Regions from separate parts of the Homo sapiens genome. Here regions 1 and 2 are each linked to region 3. The links are contacts of gene promoters, found by promoter capture Hi-C in blood cells and fetal thymus (Javierre and others, 2016). All regions are on one chromosome and are shown on one strand. Each heading gives the region's core, a stretch centred on a gene start or on the middle of the fragment in contact. The rest is flanking DNA. Distances are from core to core; before and after follow the strand shown. Region 1 overlaps SPG11 (SPG11 vesicle trafficking associated, spatacsin). Region 2 overlaps EIF3J (eukaryotic translation initiation factor 3 subunit J). Region 3 holds the start of AFG2B (AAA ATPase AFG2B).

Region 1 (2,700 bases), core at 201-2,700, 750 kb after region 3:
TGCAGTTATTTAATACTGCATCTTGACATTCGTTTACATTTTCTTTGGCTTCGAATGGTATCATGTACAGTCCGTAAGTGTGTACATTACATAGGTTCTGATAAATGTTAACTTTTTTTTTTTCTTTTTTGAGATGGAGTTTCGCTCTTGTTGTCCGGGATGGAGCGCAATGGTGCAATCTCAGCTCACTGCACCCTCCGCCTCCTGGGTTCAAGCGATTCTCCTGTCTCAGCATCCTGAGTAGCTGGGATTACCCACCACCCACGCCTGGCTAATTTTTTGTATTTTTAGTAGAAATGGGGTTTCACCGTGTTGGCCAGGCTGGTTTTGAACTTATGACCTCAGATGATCCGCCCACCTTGGCCTCCCAAAAATGCTGGGATTACAGGCGTGAGCCACCGCGCCCAGCCAATCTTAACTTTTTATAATAAGTTTGTGGGTTTCTTTTTTTTTAATTTTGAGATGGAGTCTTGCTCTATTGCCAAGGTTGGAGTGCAGTGGTGCAGTCTCGGCCCACTGCAAGGTCCGCCTCCTGGGATCAAGTGATTCTCGTGTCTCAGCCTCCCAAGTAGCTGGGATTATAGGCATGTGCCACCACGCCCAGCTAATTTTTGTATTTTCAGTAGAAACGGTTTCGCCATGTTGGCCGGGCTGGTCTTGAACGCCTGACCTCAAGTGATCCACCTGCCTCAGCCTCCCAAAGTGCTGGGATTACAGACATGAGCCACTGTGCCCAGCCAATTTGTGCATAATTTATGGTAGAAAATGATAGAGTAGTAACTATGTAACTTTTATGCATTCATGACATACCTGACTTAATCTTTATTTTAAAAAATATTTCTAGGCTAAACTGGGCATGGTAGTACATGCCTGTGGTCTCAGCTACTCCGGAGGCTGAGGCAGGAGGATTGCTTGAGTCCAGGAGATCAAGGCTACAGTGAGCTGTCATTGCACCACTGCACTCCAGCCTGGGCAACAGAGCAAGACCCTGTCTGAAAAAAATATATTTCTAGGCTACATGGTTCATTTGTGAGTTTAAACAAATTGTTGCAAATCTTTACAAATTTTTCCAATGTATTTTTGGAAAAAAAAAATCATATAAGTGGACCCATGGAGTTCAAACCTGTGATATTCAAGGGTCAACTGTATGTATAGGGTTTGGTACTATCTGCAGTTTCAGGTACCTACTGTGTGTCTTGAATGTATCCACTGTGGATAAGAGGGAACTACTGTATCTCCAACTTCTTTTTGGTATTAGATCCACATCCAGTTAATCATCAGGTCCTACCCTTTCTGTCTCCTAAATGTTTCTTTGTCCACTTTTCTCAACTCTTCTGTCGTCACTCTATGCCACCATTATCTCTTAACTGAACTATTTTAATAGTCTCCTACTTGATCTCCTCATGCCTATTACCCCCTCAAATCCATCCACAATAGAGTAGCTAAGAGTGATGTTGTTAAAATGCATATTTTATCAGAGGTGTAGCCAGTCATTAACATCTGGGGCAGGGGTATCTACCTTTTATTTTGTTGATGGGGGAACTATTTTCTCATGCATCTTCTCATTTTCGCCCTACCTTCTCTAACTTCTTTTCATCATCATCCTGGGACAGTGTCATATGGTTGTGTCAACAAATTACCTTCAAGTTGTTTAAAGGATTAATATTTAATAATGTAAGTGTTCAAAGAGATAAAATCCTTCCCCTTCTTCCCCTAGCTACTCTGCTGCATCTGTTCATATTGCTTTTCTGCTTAAAAGCCTTCTTCAGGTTCCTTTTCCCCCTCAGATAAAAGTTTAAAATTCTTAATAGCCTATGGGGCCCTGAACCATCTTTCTAGCCTCATCCCATTCCATCTTACTTCTCATTTTCTGTACATTAGCCACCCTAGCCTTCTTTGTTTCTCAAATGTAACAGCCCCCTTTTCCACATATACTCTCCCACCTATACCCACATACATACTTTACCTTCTAGTTCTTATGCATTCCTCTGGTCGCAGCCTAAATCTTACTTTGTGGTGGCAGTATAATGAGTGATTTTAAAATCTGGACTGGAGGCCGAGGCAGGCACATCACTGGAAGTCAGGAGTTTGAGACCAGCTTGGCCAATATATAGTAAAACCCTGTCTCTACTAAAAATACAGAAATTAGCCAGGCATGGTGGCATGCACCTGCAGTCCCAGCTACTCGGGAGGCTAAGACAGGAGAATCGCTTGAACCCAGGAGGCAGAGGTTGCAGTGAGCTGAGATTGCGCCACTGCACTCCAGCCTGGGTGACAGAGTGAGACTCTGTCTCAAAAAAAAAAAAAAGAAAAAAAGCTAGACTTGATAGTCACATTAGTCTGTTTCAAAGTGTTTCTGAACCTTAGTTTCCATTTCTATAAGATGGGGTTATATTTACCTCACAGGGTTGTTAGAGGCTTAAATAAGAGTTTGTGTGAAGTGTTTAGCATAACATCTGAAATATAGTAGACAGTAAGTGTTCTTACTGCTTTATCAAGCTAACTGCCCTTAATAGAGTAAAATTCTTAGAGTTCACTCTATTACTGTGACATAAGCAAGGGAGATAAGGAGTTCCTTTCTGCGGAATTTGTTGTACTATTCCTTCTCTGTAATCTCTTATTTTTAACAGGAGCAGTAGTAACACAAATTTGGGTTTGATCATCATTTTTTCATATGTCTATCATTATTTTTAAATGTAG
Region 2 (2,700 bases), core at 142-2,641, 860 kb after region 3:
AAATGCTAGGAGACTAGTAAAATGGAGCAAAAGTTATGTTGTCCTTGTGTCCAGTAGGTACTCACTGCCTTCTCAGTCAACACATCCTACATATCATACCAGCAATGAGGAAGGAGTCATATATGCCAAGTGAACAATTCTTCCCACTACCTCTGCACAACTATCAGGATAGTAAAAAAGGTAAATAAAGCCAGGGTGATGGGAAACTATGCTCCCGAGTTCTCATCTTTTTAACTGGGGAAAAGCATAGTCTTTTCTTGCCATATATATTAACGGTTGTACAGTTTCACCTAAGTCCACTTCTGCCACTGCCAGACAGCTATTTGAAAAGTCAAGGACAGCAAAATACTAAGTCTACTAAATGAGAGTAAAGTGCTGGAGCAAATTATAATAACAAAAACATCAGTTTTCCTTTCATTTCCCAGGACATTACAAATGACATTAAACCTGTATTTTTAAAGGTTAAGTACTAGATGCTGACATGAACAGAAGACCTCACGGAAACTAAGCCTTGTCTGCAACTCCTCATAAAAAGTACAAAAACATAAGAATTCAGAAATTTGGTGATATGGCTGAGTCTGCTGGCTCACGCCCATAATCCCAGCATTTTAGGAGGCTGAGGAGGATAGATCACTTGACTCCAAGAGTTCGAGACCAGCCTGGGCAACTTGGCGAAACTCTATCTCTACCAAAAACACAAAAATTAGCCAGTCTCACAAATCTGTCTCAAAATAAATAGGCCAGGTGCAGTGGCTCACACCTGTAATCTCAGCACTCTGGGAGGCCAAGGCGGGAAGATCGCTTTAACCTCAGGAGTTTGAGACCAGCCTGGGCAACTTGGCGAAACTCCACCTCTACCAAAAACACAAAAATTAGCCAGTCTCACAAATCCGTCTCAAAATAAATAGGTCAGGTGCAGTGGCTCACATCTGTAATCCCAGCACTCTGGGAGGCCGAGGCGGGAAGATCACTTTGACCTCAGGAGTTTGAGACCAGCCTAGGTAACATGGCGAAACCCTGTATCTACAAAAAAAAAAAAAAAATATATATATATATATATATATATATATATATAGCCAGGCGCGGTGGCTCACGTCTGTAATCCCAGCACTTTGGGAGGCCGAGGCGGGTGGATCACGAAGTCAGGAGTTCAAGACCGGCCTGGCCAAGATGGTGAAACCCCGTCTCTACTAAAAATACAAAAATTAGCTGGGTGTGGTGGTGGGCGCTTGTAATCCCAGCTACTCGGGAGGCTGAGGCAGAGAACTGCTTGAACCTGGGAGGCGGAGGTTGCAGTGAGCCAAGATCGTGCCACGGCACTCCAGCCTGGGTGACAGAGCAAGACTCTATCTCAAAAAAAAAAAAAAGAAAAAAATATGTAAATTAGCTGGGCACGGCGGTGCACACCTGTAATCCCAGCTACTAGAAAGGCTGAGGCTGGAGAATCACTTGAATCCGGGAGGCGGAGGTTGCAGAGATCGTGCCACTGCACTCCAGCCTGGGAAACGGGGTGAGACCTTCTCTCAAAAAATTAGATGAATAGATAGATTGCTTTAAGTTAAAAAAAAAAAAAAAAAAGAAAAAGAAATTTAGCACTAAAACAGCAACTGGGGCCGGGTGTGGTGGCTCACGCCTGTAATCCCAGCACTTTGGGAGGCCAAGGCGGGCAGATCACAAGGTCAGGAGATTGAGACCATCCTGGCTAACACGGTGAAACCCCGTCTCTACTAAAAATAGAAAAAATTAGCCGGGCGTGGTGGTGGGCACCTGTAGTCCTCGGGAGGCTGAGGCAGGAGAATGGAGTGAACCTGGGAGGCGGAGCTTGCAGTGAGCGGAGATTGTGCCACTGCACTCCAGCCTGGGTGACAGAGCGAGACTCCATTTCCAAAAAAAAAAGAGCAACTGGACAAGATAATCTTTGTGGTCCCTTACAACTTGTAAATATCCAAAACTTGTTCCAAGTGATCAGAATTATATTCATCAGAGGCTGGGTACGGTAGCTCACGCCTATAATTCCAGCACTTTGGGAGGCTAAGGCAGGAGAATCACCTGAGGTCAGAAGTTCAAGACCAGCCTGGGCAACATGGCGAAACCCCGTCTCTACTAAAAATACAAAATTAGCCAGGCGTGGTGGTGCGTGCCTGTAATCCCAGCTACTTGGGAGGCTGAAGCAGGAGAATCACTTGAACCCAGGAGGTGGAGGTTGCAGTGAGCCAAGATCGCGCCATTGCACTCCAGCCTGGGCAACAAGAGCGAAACTCCATCTCAAAAAAAAAAAAAAAAAGAATTATATTCATCAAGATCGATACCATTTAGATCCCTTAATCCCAAGGAAGTTATTCCATGACATTAGTCTAGACTATCCATTAAAACTTCATTTTCTGCAACTTCTTTCCTAATATCTCTAATCTTTTCTCTGCATTTGTTAATTTATTCCCAAATTTCATAACAGATGTCTTAACTGCCACTTCCTATATGCATGGAAAAAAATGAAAGGACCAATATGAACCCAAGGCTCAAAACTGAAAATCTGCTACAATGTAGAGGGGTAACTAATATCTTGTAATGCGGCTGGTAACAAAATCTAGTCCCATGTTTCTACAACATGTAAATAAAGCATCTGAGTGTCTTCAAACAATAACCAGTCGATTTATTAACTTCAATGTGTGCAAAGCTCACAACATTCTTGAACCTCAGGCT
Region 3 (2,700 bases), core at 139-2,638:
CCTGACAATTTGACTCTGGGGAAATACAGGTCCTGACTCACAGATCATATATCGGCAGAGAACGTGTTCTCTGCATTGCAAAGAGCCCCAACTCCAACCTCACCGATGCTCAAACCTAAGAGGCAAACGCCTCCGGGGCAGCCAAATGGCGCCAGAAGCGGCCGAGGTTCCACCGACAGTGGGCAAACCCGCCAAGCCCATTCACCTCTCGGTCAAATCTCCCGGGCCTACGCAGCGCTGGGTCTAGAGCGTCCGGCCGGTTAGTGGCTCCCACAACCACGACCTCGCGGTCCCCACTGGCGCCGTCCAGCAGCGTCAACACCTGGGCCACTACGCGGCTCTCGGGTGCTCGACTGCCCCGCTGGGGACACAAGGCGTCCATCTCGTCCAGGAAGAGGAGGCTGGGTCCGCGGCTGGCCAGTTCCCGGGCGCGCTGGAAGACCCGCCGCACGTTCTCCTCGGTCTCCCCAGGCCGGGAACCCTGCAGCGCCGGGGCGCTGACTGCCAGCAGCTCCGCGCCCGCCTCGCGCGCCACGGCCCGCACCAGCTGGGTCTTGCCCACTCCGGGGGGCCCCGCCAGGAGCACCCCGCGAGGCACCGCTAAGCCCAGCGCGGTCAGGGCGCGCGGGTAGCGGAGCGGGAGGCGGAGGAGCTCCCGCAGCGAGTCGGCCGCCTCCGAAAGACCTCCCAGGGGCACCTCGGGCTGCGGCTGGGCTTCCGACGGAGGCTCCCCGCCAAGGCTGACGCGGGTACGAGGGGTGACCAGCCCAGCGGGATCGGGACTGGGCGTCCCGCCGACGATGTGCAAGGCAGCCACCAGGCCAGGAGCGCCTGGCGGAGCGACCACCACGTGGCCCAGGGAGATCGGTCGGTTTCTCAGCAGCTCCTGTGCCGCCTCCAGCACCGCGGCTGTATTCCGGGCACCGGGCGCGCCTGCCCGCTCTCGCAACACCGGCCACACGGCGACGCGCCGCAGGGGCGGACAGGGCACTAGGAGGAGGCGATTCAGGCTGAGACTCCTCCGGGATCTCGACGCCCCGACCGCCGCCCCGGGGCTCGCGCACAGCGGGTCCAGCTGCACAAAGCCGTCCGCTCCGTCCCGCCGAGGCCAGGCAGTGCAGAGGCAGGAGCCGCCGTCGGGTAGCGAGATCTTCACTGCCGAGCCCAAGCGCGCGCCCAGGGCGTGGAGGGCGGCCGGGCCCAGGCGGCAGCGCTGGGTGCCCCGGTCTCTAGCGTCTAAGGGTAGCAGCTTTAAGAGCGGCCCTTCAGGGAAGGGATCCGAGTCCGGAGCCATCGCACACAGATGAACCAGGCAGACGAAACCAGATTAGGAAACCCACCCGGCCCACAAAAAGCGGAACACCGAGCTCGCAGGCCGGAAGCAGATTGCGCGCATGCGCTAGGGCAGACTGCGTTGCTAGCAGCTGAGTGAAGGCCGAAAGGGCCAATGGAAACGTTAGACGACGCTCGGGCCTCTGGGTAGAGCGTTGGTGTCCGCTTTCGTGAAATCGAGTTGCCTAACCCAGAGCTTTCCCGAGATGGTCTTCGTTACAGGTGTCTGGGAGGCGGCTTAAGCTCACTTCACTAGGTCATTAAGCATGTACTTTGGTGGTTACATATATCTTGGAAGTCACCGGCTTTACATTCTGTTTTCCTGGCCTTCGAACTGGAGCATCAGTACTACCGCCGTTGGAATAGCAACCTAGAGACTTTGCTATTTTGTGAAGAAACTCTAACTATCCGCATGGGCACAGAATTTTGGGTGCTCTGGTGCAAATGTCTCAGGTGACTTGGCGTAACTGAGAATACAGCCTTGGGACCTTCGGTAATCGGGGTTCCAATCTGGGAGGTCCAGGCACAACCCTTCCTATGGGAAAGTACCAGCATAGTGGGAGGGAAGCACACGGTAGCGCTTAAAATCCCTTGTAGAGAGGAAAGAAGGAAAACTAGGCTACCTGATGGATTTGTAGCACACCAACAGTACATTTGTTCTGATTTCTGATATTCTTTTGAATATTCTTTGGCAACAAGTTAATCACTAAAGTTCATGCGATCAATGCTTACTGTCTAATTGGGGCACAACAGTACTAAGTCCTGTATTAGAGGCGATACCTATCTACGTTATTAAGACAACTGCCTGCTATTTTTTTTTTCCAGCTGCTTTCTGCCTTTCCCTTTCGCACAGGGAATTCCTTTTTATCAGCTGGAATACATTTTCTATCCCTCTTAATTGCCGTTAAAAAAGAACTACAGATACTCAAAGACAAGAAGATATACCTTGTTTTTATTTGACTTACATCTTCCTACCTCTATTTTCCCCACTTTCACTGCAACCCAAATTTGTGAGTTGACAAAACTGATATTTTAGAGTGCTTAAGTTGCTGGGAAGTTTTTTTTTTCTATCTATGCAAATAATCAATTACAGACTGTGTAGTAATATCTTATCAATGGGAAGTACTGTCAGATCTGGGATCTTAAGACCCATGCCAGTTCCTGATCTCATTCTGTCCAAACTTCATGGCAGACATGACAGACTTCTTGACTTGACAGTAACTTACCTGGTCTCAGCTGTACTTGTCTGCTTAAATCGATTCTGGAACAATTTAGGAATCAGAAAATAGCAGGAGGAGGTCTTGAAATGGATAAGTCACCCATTACTTCCTGTTTTCTTTTTTCCTCTTAATCCCATTGGCTTCAGTT

The links. Contacts are between HindIII fragments. The CHiCAGO score rates a contact against its expected background, and 5 or more counts as called.
Region 1: a fragment that was not itself captured here is called in contact with the fragment with the promoter of AFG2B in region 3 in 1 of 17 cell types (neutrophils); the score reaches 5.1 in neutrophils.
Region 2: a contact is called between a fragment that was not itself captured here and the fragment with the promoter of AFG2B in region 3, in 1 of 17 cell types (fetal thymus). The highest score is 5.0, in fetal thymus.

Annotation. Positions count from the first base shown.
Region 1 is chr15:44,652,267-44,654,966 of GRCh38, reverse strand. All of the region lies in intron 4 of SPG11 (SPG11 vesicle trafficking associated, spatacsin), which reads left to right. Among named protein-coding and RNA genes, the nearest start is that of SPG11, 10 kb to the left of the region's middle. The HindIII fragment of the contact is 9,884 bases long and covers 1-2,700 here.
Region 2 is chr15:44,538,611-44,541,310 of GRCh38, reverse strand. The region is part of intron 2 of EIF3J (eukaryotic translation initiation factor 3 subunit J); the gene reads right to left. Among named protein-coding and RNA genes, the nearest start is that of EIF3J, 2.8 kb to the right of the region's middle. The HindIII fragment of the contact is 4,412 bases long and covers 1-2,700 here.
Region 3 is chr15:45,401,024-45,403,723 of GRCh38, reverse strand. AFG2B (AAA ATPase AFG2B) reads right to left here and starts at 1,388. Exons shown (of 8, transcript NM_024063.3): 1 at 206-1,388. The coding sequence starts at 1,294. It also overlaps a transcript of GATM not described here. RefSeq lists silencers at 556-705, 1,096-1,175 and enhancers at 1,256-1,415, 1,806-1,875, 1,886-1,935. The HindIII fragment of the contact is 3,246 bases long and covers 1-2,700 here.